2 separate regions of the Homo sapiens genome follow, and region 2 is linked to region 1. Evidence: promoter capture Hi-C in human tissues and cell types (Jung and others, 2019). All regions are on one chromosome and are shown on one strand. Each heading gives the region's core, a stretch centred on a gene start or on the middle of the fragment in contact. The rest is flanking DNA. Distances are from core to core; before and after follow the strand shown.

What was found. The method cuts DNA at HindIII sites, captures the fragments that hold promoters and counts their contacts. A contact is called where the count stands out against the background at its distance.
Region 2: a contact is called between a fragment that was not itself captured here and the fragment with the promoter of TNFRSF10D in region 1, in 1 of the 25 tissues and cell types used here (spleen).

The regions. Positions count from the first base shown.
Region 1 is chr8:23,161,444-23,167,465 of GRCh38, forward strand. TNFRSF10D (TNF receptor superfamily member 10d) reads right to left here and starts at 2,584. Exons shown (of 9, transcript NM_003840.5): 1 at 2,343-2,584. The coding sequence starts at 2,492. RefSeq lists an enhancer at 2,322-2,441. The HindIII fragment of the contact is 7,003 bases long and covers 475-6,022 here.
Region 2 is chr8:23,384,063-23,390,084 of GRCh38, forward strand. All of the region lies in intron 1 of LOXL2 (lysyl oxidase like 2), which reads right to left. Among named protein-coding and RNA genes, the nearest start is that of LOXL2, 17 kb to the right of the region's middle. The HindIII fragment of the contact is 3,132 bases long and covers 803-3,934 here.

The DNA of each region.
Region 1 (6,022 bases), core at 1,334-3,833:
TCCAGGCTCATCTGATGTCCTCCTGACAGCCTGAAGATGGAGACCTTATCTCCATTTACAGGCGTGGCAGGTGGCAGGGACTGGCCCCAGCTGACCACGGTTCTCCAAGTTCACAGCTGGGAATTCAGTCTTCCCTGCCACCCTCCCCTGCTGTCTCATCTGGATCCCCCGGTCATCTACTCCCACTACCAAAACTCCCGTATCCTTGAAAATTCCTAATACCATTAAGGAATGAAAGTACATAACAATGTGATGAATCACCTTTTACTTCCTAGACTAGCAACGAATGAAAGCTAAGTGTAACAAGGGTGTAGGGATACAGGCACATGTGTGAACTAGGTGTGAGTGTAAGCTGAGTTCAATGGTCTTTTGGAAGAAAATTCGTAAACATCTAAAGAAACTTCTGAAATGATTTATCCCACGGAAGTAGAAGTAAAATTCTACTTCTAAGGAGTTGCCCAATAAGCTGGTGCGCATGGACATGTGGACACACGATACATACAAGGGTATTTAGTACAATGCTGTTGGAATTAGCAAAGGCAAATTTGCTTTGGGTTATATCCCATCGGGATGGGATATAACCAGCTGCCTCTAGATGGCAACAGTGAATTAACCTGTGGCTTACCCATGTAGTAAAATACAATACCCTTGTTTAAAAGAAAATCAATCTGAATGTACTGCCATAAAACATCTAATGTGATTTGTGCTAGCTCCAAAATTTTAAAAAGCAACTGTGCATTGAAATGCATTTAATAAGGCAAGATTGATGGAGGGATCAAAGCCTCCTTTGGGACGCATAGAGTTCACATTCCCAAAACTGTGAAATTCAGGTTGCTGGTCTTGTCTACACAGGTCATCCACACATTCTCTCTTCAGGGCCACTGTCCTGACACAGCCATTCTTCTAGCTGCCTCAGGTAGGTCCACCCACTATAAACTATTGTAGAAGTCAGTTGTGTAATTTTTGAGAGGTGAAAATGTCACTGCTGTTCTGAATTTAGTATTACTTCGTTGAAAGAAAACATGGAGACTCTCATGGTTCATGTAATCTTGTTTTATCCTCCCCGTTTTGTTTTTTGGTATTACGTAAGAAACCTTAGAAAGCACTGTTGGCAGAAACGTCAGTCACTCAGAAAAAGTCCTGGCAGTCTGCACATCTTATTTTTATGTCCTTCTTGTGCACCCCACTACCAATCTCAGTTTCCAAACCCAACTCACAACGAGAACTTTACATCTTTTATGCCTAAGGAAGGGGCCATCCCGCGGTCCTGCCTATGGGATACAGAGGGGACACACGGGTGGCAGTGGAAGACACTGACTGCAAGCACCTTGGTTAACCGCTTCCTGCCACTTTCAGGGTTCTATAGGAAATGAAAGTTACAAAAAACAGCGTTGGAAAGCTTTTTCACAGGCTGTTTGTTAAACTGATCTCCAAGAAACACGTGTAACAGTGTAAACATAGGGTTAATTTTGTTTGTTTGTTTGTCTGTTTTTGTTAAGGCAGAGTCTCGCTCTGTCGCCCAGGCTGGAGTGCAGTGGTGCAATCTCGGCTCACTGCAACCTCTGCCTCCCGGGTTCAAGCAGTTCTCCTGCCTCAGCCTCCTGAGTAGCTGGGACTACAGGCGCAGGCTGCCACGCCTGGCTAACTTTTTTTTTTTTTTTTTTTTTTTTTTTGAGACGGAGTCTCGCTCTTGTTGACCAGGCTGGAGTGCGATGGCGCGATCTCGGCTCACTGCAACCTCCGCCTCCCGGATTCAAGTGATTCTCCTTCTGCCTCAGCCTCCCGAGTAGCTGGGATTACAGGCGACCGCCATCACGTCCGGCTAATTTTTGTATTTTTAGTAGAGACGGGGTTTCACCATGGTGGCTAGGCTGGTCTCCAACTCCTGACCTCAGGTGATCCGCCCGCCTCGGCCTCCCAACGTGCTGGGATTACAGGCGTGAGCCACCGCGACCGGCCTGGGTTAACGTTATGAACGAACGAACGAACGAACGAACGAAAGAGGCAACCGCTCTGTGGCTTCCTGAGGTTCACTCCGGGGTTTCCATCTTGACTCCCTCCCTCCGCTGATTCTGGAACTTCCTCTGGGGCAGCTCAGTGCGGTCCTCGCCGCACGGGACAGCCAGGGGGAGCGCGCGCTCTGCTCCCTCGCGGCCCGGTCGCTCCTGCCCAGCCCGGGCACCCCACTCTTCCCCTGACTCCGACGGCGGGTTCGTCCTGCCCAGACATGCCCGGCCGCAGGCGACCCGGGCCAAGCATCCCCACCGTGTCCCCCTCTCTCCCTGCCCACTCCCGGCGCCAGGTGCGCTCTTCCCCAGCCAGGGACCGCGGCGGAGACTCACCGGCAGCAGAACCGCGACGATGAAGACGACGAACTTAAGGATCTTGGGGTCCAGGAGCCATGGTCTGGTTCCCGACGCTGTCCTGGCTCCTGGATAGCGCCCTGCTCGAGCGCTCGAGGCGGTCGGGACGCTTTGTCCCCAAAGTCCCATGAGAAGGGAGGAGGGTGGATCGAAAGCGCCAAAAATCAATCAGAAATCGTCCCCGTAGTTTGTGCGCGTGCAAAGGTTCTCGCAGCTACACTGCCAGAATAGAACGTGCTCCTCCGCTTTTATACCCCGGAAAAAAGGCGTGGTCAGTTGTACTCCCTTCCCGCAGTCACTTCCAGGCACTCAGGCTGGGTCTCCCCCAGCACCTCCAGGAGGGCCCAGGTTGTGTGGGTGGGTGCATGGACGGACAGGAACTGGCTCTTTCCGGCAGCGGTGACCCAGGGCCTGCGGTTTGATTCCGGGTCCTGTCCAGGCTGTAGGCAGCAGAAGGGGAAGGAGCTGAGGCGCTGCCCGCTGCGCTGCTGTAGTCTGGGTAGTGAGCTCCAGAGGAGGCACTGGAGGCCCATCCTGAGCCTGCTCCCTCCCCGGGCCGCCTGTCTCTCCTCTTCTTAAACCCTGAACTACTTCCTGGCCTCAGGACTTCAGTCCACTCTTAGCTTCTGCTCCCACTCCCTCCTCCCACAGCGGCCTCACTGACCAGTGCACTGATGCCACTGATGTCTCCAGCCTCCTTGCTGCTGTGACCCAGCTCCAAGCTTCTCTGGCAGGGGCTTGGTATCCCTCAGTAGCGGGTGCCTGGCACCAAGGAGGGGCCCAGTGAACACATGAGTGGACAGAATGAAGGACACAGAGGCCATGACAGGCACCTGCAGAGGCTGAGGAGTAGGTAGGAGGGAGAGGAACGCCGGGGGCATCCCTAGCCACAACCTGGCACCCTTTGCATGGTCAAAGCACAAACACTCCCTGACCAACCTTGAGGGCTCTAGTATTGAGGCCCCATGGAGACAGGGGAATCAGGGGAGTGCCTTCCAAAGTCTGTCCCCAAGTCTATTGTCTACCCAGGTCCAACTGTCTGACCTTGGGCTACTTACCTCCCCATCCAGTTGAACACACTGCCGCTGTGAGGGCAGACCCAATGTGTGGTTTTGAAGGGTGCCAGCTTGTGACCCTAAGCAGTAAGGTCAATGGCAGGACTCCTAGACCCTTGGGATGAGTCGGCTCCTGACCCCTCACATGGTAGATAGAAGAGGATAGCGCTATAGAAATGAAGGTTTTTTGGCTCATGAGAAACCTGGGAATGAAATGTCATCCTCTCCACAGGCTTGGATTTGAGCGATGGATCACCCTGAGCACCTTCCAGGGCCCAGACAATGACCTAGGGTCAGAAATGTGAGCCAGGGCCGGGCGCGGTTGCTCACGCTTGTAGTCCCAGCACTTTGAGAGGCTGAGGTGGGCGAATCAAGAGGTCAGGAGTTCGAGACCAGCCTGGCCAACATAGTTAAACCCCATCTCTACTAAAAATACAAAAATTAGCTGGGCGTGGTGGCGGGCACTTGTAATCCCAGCTACTCAGGAAGCTGAGGCAGGAGAATTGCTTGAACCCAGGAAATGGAGGTTGCAGTGAGCCGAGATTCGTGCCACTGCACTCCAGTCTGGGTGACAGAGCGAGACTCTGTGAAAAAAAAAAAAAAGAAAAAAAAATGTGTGCCAGGTCCCAGGCACTGAGCTAGGGTCAGAAATGTGCGCCAGGTTTCAGGCACTGAGCTAGACTCAGAAATGTGTGTCAGGCCCCAGGCACTGAGCTAGGGTCAGAAATGTGTGTCAGGCCCCAGGCACTGAGCTAGGGTCAGAAATGTGCGCCAGGTTCCAGGCACTGAGCTAGGGTCAGAAATGTGTGCCAGGTTCCAGGCACTGAGCTAGACTCAGAAATGTGTGTCAGGCCCCAGGCACTGAGCTAGGGTCAGAAATGTGTGTCAGGCCCCAGGCACTGAGCTAGGGTCGGAAATGTGTGCCAGGCCCCAGACACTGAGCTAGGGTCAGAAATGTGTGCCAGGACCCAGGCAATGAGAAATGTGTGGGGTCAGGAATGTGTGCGGGGTGCAGATCCAGGCAGGAGGTGAAAGGTCAGGGACTTCAGGAAGACTGACAGCATTAACACAGAGCCACCAGGGCCTGCAGGAAAGTCCTTAGAGCACCTTAGCTCCCTTGGCCCTGGAGGGTGGACCACACAGTATAGACCAGAAACCAGACTGCAGGTAACAACGCATTCTCTGTGCCCTGTGTGGAGCACTGACTAGGGCTAATGGCAAAAGGCTGTGAGCACCTCCAAGGAACTGGGCCTTTAGAGTCAAGTTTCCACTTAAGAGGCACTTACTAGCTTGAGATGGAACACTAACTGAAGTCTCCCCTGTCACTGAAGGACATAAAATAATCTTGAAACCTGAAAAACTGATGATGTCTTCAGGAATCTTGGAAAAGCTCTAACGGGGAGGCCAGTCCCAGAAGAGTTCTATTACAAAATGGATTTTTTTTTTTTGAGATGGAGTCTCACTCTGTTGCCAGGTTGGAGTGCAGCACGATCCAGGCTCACTGCAACCTCTGCCTCCTGGGTTCAAGCGATTCTCCTGCCTCAGCCTCCCGAGTAGGTGGGATTACAGGCACATGCCACCACGCCTGGCTAATTTTTGAATTTTCAGTAGAGACGAGGGATCTTCATGTTGGCCCGGATGGTCTCGATCTCTTGACCTCGTGATCCACCCGCCTCAGCCTCCCAAAGTGCTGGGATTACAGGCGTGAGCCACCTCACTCAGCCTAAAAAATGGAAATGGTTGATATGGGATCCTGGTGCCTGAGGAAGGCAAAGAGGAGACACTCATGAGCAGGGAGCCTCTGTTCCCCTCAGACTGAGTCTGGAACTGGGTGAGGAGCTGCTGGATTCTGTGGTCACTTGGACATTGCCCTATACACAGCTCTTTACTTACTGACCAAGAGCTACTTAGTTTGTAGACAGTCATTCCTAGATGAATGGACAACATCCTACTTGGAAGGCCACCCCTCTGATGGAAGAAGGCAAAGGCAAATTGGCTAGGTGGGTTGGATTGCATGCTATTTTCCTAGCCTTATGGAAGATTTGAACAGCAGCAAAAGCCCCTGTACTTGAGTTTTTTTCTGGCTCATGGACAGTCGTCAATGTCCCGGTCATAGAGTTGGGAAGGAGAATGTGAAAGTTGATCGCACAAATTGGGTCATTCTTGTCACACCCAACTAAAACAGAGTCAAGAGGCCATGGGGAAGAAAAATCACTGTATTACCCCCAAACTGCAATTCTCTGTAAGTCTGGCAGCTGTAACGTGAAACTATTAATAGTTCTGTCTTATATCTATTGACACAACCAGCTGCTGCTCTAAGACCAGCCTGACCCACTGCAGTCACTCACCAGTCAGAGCATGCCACTTCTTCAAATTTTACAGCGCCAATGAACTTTCTGCAAAAAAAAATACTTAGTATTTCTCATTTAAAAAAAAACATCTGGCCGTGTGCGGTGGCTCACACCTGTAATCCCAGCACTTTGGGAGGCCGAGGCAGGCGGATCACGAGGTCAGGAGATCGAGACCATCCTGGCAAACACTGTGAAACCCGGTCTCTACTAAAAATACAAAATAATTAGCCGGGCGTGGTGGCGGGCACCTGTA
Region 2 (6,022 bases), core at 1,119-3,618, 220 kb after region 1:
CAGCTCGCCTACATACCTGTTTGCCTCTGAAATTCACTTGTATAGTAAAGGCAGTAGGCAAATGTCGAGGTAATTTATGGGATACGAAGATCTGGGATCAGAAAATCTCACCCTAGCAGATAATCAAGGCTTATGTCTAGACAGGAATTATGGGTTATAAGGTTGGACCAAGGAGGTGCAGAGCAAGGCATGATCCCAGCGAAGCACAGCTGACTTCCAAGGCAACGTGCCAGCTCAGCTGCACACACCTGCTTGCCCTGAAGGAAATGAGCCTCTAAACACATGCTGGACATGGGTGCTCCAGAGGGGCTGTCAAGGCCTGAGGCAGTGAGCGTTGCTGACACAGAGGGGAGAACAGGCTACCTGCAGTTACTTCAGCAGAACCAACAGGGAACGGCAATTCCTCAAGTCTCACCTCCTCCTAGAAGTCCACTCAGCTTACTTCCAACAGTACCTGCAGCTGGTTCAGGAGGCTCGAGGAGTTGGACAGACTTCATTCCCTATCTGAGTCCATTTCCAAATAGATGTCTCAGGAAGGCAGAAGGAGGGAGTAACTTAAAAGGCTCCAGCGGCCGGGCGTGGTAGTTCATGCCTGTAATCTCAGCCCTTTGAAGGCCGAGGCGGGCGGATCACCTGAAGTCAGGAGTTCAAGACCAGCCTGGCCAATGTGGTGAAACCCCATTGCTACTAAAAATACAAAAATTAGCCGGGCATGGTGGCAGGTGCCTGTAATCCCAGCTACTTGGGAGGCTGAGGCAGGAGAATCGCTGGAACCCAGGAGGCAGAGGTTGCAGTGAGCCGAGATTACACCATTGTATTCCAGACGGAGTGAAACTCCGTCTCAAGAAAACAAACAAACAAAAAGCCTCCAGCTTTCCCAGCATTCAACATGGACAGTGAATTAGTGAATTAGAAGGTGCAAAGAGGCAATTTGCTGTAACCTTTGGGGTTCTGGTAATTTTATCGTGCAAAGACTGGAGGGAGCAATTCCACAGCAGTTTCCTTCAACTATGGATATAAAGACTTTCCTATTCTCTGCCTGTTTTATGTATTTATTTACCACTCCCTGCGCCCCCGTCCTGTTCGAACAGGATCACCTCTACTTTTATACAGCAACCTGGACACCACATGGGCTGGTGTTGAAGGTGGGCTTCTGTGGAAGAGAAAGTTGGATTTTTTTTCTTTTTTTTTTTTTTTTTGAGACAGAGCTTTTCACTCCTGTTGCCCAGGCTGGAGTGCAGTGGTGTGATCTCGGCCTACTGCAACCTCTGCGTCCCAGGTTCAAGCAATTCTCCTGCCTCAGCCTCCCAAGTAGCTGGGATTACAGGCACACACCACCACACCCAGCTAATTTTTTTTTTTTTTTTTGGTATTTTCAGTAGAGAAGGGGTTTCACCATGTTGGCTAGACTGGTCTTGAACTCCTGACCTTAAGTGATCCGCCCGGCTCAGCCTCCCAAAGTGCTGGGATTACAGGCATGAGCCACTACACCCAGCCAAAGTTGGATGTTTAAAAGTAAAACAGAACTTATATTTATTAATCATTAATCAGTATCAATCTGATTTTGATCAGTATCAATCAGCATGTGAGAAGTGCTAAGACAGGTATTTCATCCTCTCGTCTGGATGAGCACTGCCCAACAGAAACGTAATGAGAGCCACATATGAAATTTTAAATTCCCTCGTAGCCACTTTCCAAAAGTAGAATAAAATAGATGAAATCAATGTTAAAGATATATTTTATTTGATGCAATATATTTCAATATGGAATCAATACAAAAATTATTAATGAGATGTTTTGCGTTCTTTTTTCTTTTTGTACTAAGTCTTTGAAATCCAGCACGTACTTTGCGTTTGCAGCGCATCTCAATTCCAAGCAGCACATTGCAAGTGTTTGGTGGCCCCATATGGTGGTGGCTGCCATACTGCACAACACAGCTTTGGACAACCCCCTGAGCAAGGTATTATCAGCATCCCTATTTTCCTAAGGAAAAACCGAGAGACAGAAAGGCTACATGATTTTCCTATAGTCACACTGCTAAAAAGTGATCAAGCTGGAATTTGTAACCAGGCCAGCCAGATACCAGAGCAGACACCCTTATTCACTAATTGTTGAGGTCAGGAGTTCGAGACCAGCCTGGCTAACATGGTGAAATCCCATCTCTACTAAAAAATACAAAAATTAGCCGGGCGTGGTAGCACACACCTGTAATCCCAGCTGCTCAGGAGGCTGAGGCAGGAGACTTGCTTGAACCCTGAATGTGGAGGTTGCAGTGAGCTGAGCTCATGCCACTGCACTACAGCCTGGGCGACAGAGCAAGACTCCCTCTCCAAAAAAGAAAGAAAGAGAACAAAATATAAGTGCTCTGTGTCTCTTACGATGTCTTAGAATAAACAAATATGTAAGTTCTCCATCTACCCTTCCAGACATTTGAGGACATCTAGACTAATATGGCAGACACATTTCTCTTCTCCATACCTGTTCTATTAGTCCTTGCTCAGAGATCTTAATTTCACAAAAGAAATAAAAAAGCCTGGTGGAGATACCACAGTGGGGAGAGTTTTTAGAAAACAGGCAGATCTATTCTCAGCATTCACCTTGGAAGACCTCCAAGGGTGTCTCAACATTGACAGTCTAAGAAGCATCTGCTCCAGTGAAGTCACCTCAGTCCACATCATGGAAATTCCAGGACCCTCCTCTACGCTGAATGCAAGCAGAGAGCATCTGCCAACTGGGTCAGCAGAACATGGGAGAATCAGGCCAAGGATCTCCGTAGCTCCCTCCACACGCTCCAAATAAATGCGGCTTTCACAGGCACGCAAGGGTCCGCAAGGGGAAGGCCTCCCAAGGTGCTGGGATTGCAGGCATAAGTCAAGGTGAGAGGCCCACCTTGGAGAGTATCCTGTTCAAACCTAGTTTGAGTGAGGTCTGGGAGCTGCCGTGGCAGATGGCCTTAATTATTCACACAGTTGAGCCCAGGAGTGGGTCGTAATTAAAGGGACAAGGCAAGGTGCCGAAGGACTGAAGTCTCTGACTGACACAAATAAAAGCCAGAGACTGCCAGGAAAAGTTGGTTGTGCCTGGCTCTTCAGAAAGGGAGAAATTATCCCCCAATATGGTCTCACTGGGCTTTTGACTGCACGGCTGAGAACCCTCTTACATTCAATGCAGTCCATTCAAGGTTACAACATTCACACAGATGATTCTAGTATAAGCTTTGCCAACAAGAGGCACTGTGTCCTCGGGGGGTATCAGAGAGAGATCAGGAAAGAATTCCTTCACATTAGAGGGACTCGGGGATCGAGGTATTCCTTATAAACATCAGGTGGGATCAGCTTACCCTCCCCAGGGTCTCGGGCACCTCCCAATGCAGGGGCCCACTCAGACAGCCCACAGCACACCCTTCCAGGAAAAACAGGCGGGATGCTCTGCCACCTCTTTACTGACCATAAACGGCATGGACTAGCGGCTTAGTCATGCAGAATTTGGTTCAAATCTTATTTCTTAGCTTATTAGCTCTGTGACCTAGGCCCACTTAGATTTTTCTAAGTCTCAGGATTTCATCTACCAAATGGAAACAATATGTACTTAAAAACAACTTTTTAGGCCAGGCACGGTGGCTCATGCCTGTAATCCCAGCACTTTGGGAGGCTGAGGCAGGTGGATCACTGGAGGTCAGGAGTTCGAGACCAGCCTGGCCAACATGGTGAAACCCTATCTCTACCAAAAATACAAAAATTAGCTGGGCATAGTGGTGGGCACCTGTAATCCCAGCTACTTGGGAGACTGAGGCAGGAGAATCACTTGAACCCGGAAGGCAGAGGTTCAGTGAGCCGAGATCACGCCATTGCACTCCAGCCCGGGCGACAAGAGCGAGACTCTGTCTCAAACAAACAAACAAAAAAACTTTTTTAAGGAAAAATATGAAACATCTTTTCAGGCCTGTTGTAAAAATCAAAGATCATGCTTCTTAAGTTCCTAGACCATAGCAGGTGGCCAATAAAAATAGCAGCTAATATATCTTGGTTCAAACAGGTGCTGCCTGCTAGATTCGAGTCAGGTTATTCAGGCACCAACTACAGTTCTGAGTGATACTAAGCTGCATAATGCAGTTGCTTACATTTAATTTTGATCTTCAGCTTCCCCAGGTGTTATTTGGGGAACTGTGAGCTGCCAAGGCTGAGCCTAGGTAGTTCCTTCTGGATCCCGCACCTTGCAACAACTTAAAATTTAGAAATGGGCTGGGTGCTCATGCCTGTAATCCTGGCACTTTGGGAGGCCAAGGTGGGATGATTGCTTCAGCTCAGGGGTTTGAGACCAGCTTGAGCAACATAGGGAGATCCTGTCTCTACAAAAAAATTTTTTTTTTTAATTGGCTGGGCATGGTAGCAAATGCCTATTGTTCCAGCTACTTGGGAGGCTGAGGCAAGAGGATCACTTGAGCCCAGGAGGTTGAGGCTGCAGTGAGCAGTGACTGTGCCACTGCACTCCAGTCCAGCCTGGGCGACAGAGCTGGGACTTGTCTCCAAGAAAAACAAAAACAAAAAGCAAAAAATATACTCACACACACACACACACACACACACACACACACACACACACACACACTAGAAATGTACATTTACTCCAAAGAATATACAATATTAGCAAAAAGCTTAATTATCTAAATAAAAAGGTGTCTTCTCATATACTGTATACATTAGGTATGTGCAAAATTGTGCCAAGTCTGCAAGTAAAGCTTTTAAGGAGGGTAGGGGAAAAAAAGACTTTTAAGCAGGGCTTGTATCAGCCAGTGCTTGCTGATCTTGCTGAGAGCTGGGGAAGAGGGCTGGGTTGGAGGGAGAGAAAGAGGTTCAGAACCTTGAACTTACTCAAGGTTCTGAGTTGGTCATAAGCAGTACTGTTACAATTGTCCAACAAGCATCATTCATTGGAAGACATTGTTAGCCCTTGAAGCACCTGTCACCCTAAGAACTTTCTGCTACACTCCAGAATCCCTGATTTTTCTTATCCCAGTAGTAGTATTGTCCTGATAATGGATGAGTGTTTGAAAATCCTTCATGAAGCCTCACTTAATTTTGACCCAGCAGAGCTAACAGAGGAAAAGAAGAAAATGTAAAACTGGCCTTTCTAGGGTCCTTTTCTTAGTGTCCTTTTCTTAGGCTACTACCTTGATAGCTGAGTCAGTCTGCCTAGGAAGGAATGTGAAAGGCCTACTCCAAAAAACTCTCCAGTATCAAGATTTTTATTGAAGCTACTGAAATTTTTTTCTTCCTCCAAAAGCAATCCGTTTTGAATCATTTCATCATCCACCTAAAAAGGCATTCTGTGTTATAGAATTCACCTGCTTAATGGTACCTTCTGGAAAATCAAGGACAATTGGCTTCCTAGTTCATTCTTAAACACAGGAGAAACCCAGAACATGACCTCTGATCAATGACACTTGACCTTGTGGCACGCAGTCGAATAATGCCCCATGTGACTAACTGATTCCTAGTCAATAGCAACAATTGTTTTTATTGCCAATAGCAATAAAAATTCCTAGTCATGCACAGATAAAGGGGAAAACACATTGTAAAAATTATACAGTGTTTGGACATCATGCTTTTAGATTTTCAAGTGCCCTGACACAACCTGATCCTGATGTGATGCTCATAACTGTCCCCTTCCCTAATATGAGTATGTGGGGCATAGGACTCTCACAAAGCAGGCTTCAATGGGACCCCACTTTGCTTGCCTGGCCTCCGGCAGGCCCCCAGTAAATAGGGAAGTGATTCATTCCTCCCAGCACTGGCTCCACATCTTGTGCCCTGGAGCTCCCAGCAACAGTCCTGCCTGCCCCGGATTTGAAGCATCTCATAAACAACCTGGCAGTTCTCAGCCAGGAACAGTGCCCTACCCTGCCAAGGACACTTGCTTGCAACAGTGTGGCCCAGAGCTCGGCTGAATTTCTTCCTTCCAGACAGAATGTTCCGCTTGACATTTCTGCCAGATGCCTGCATTCACATTTGGGGTCAGGGGC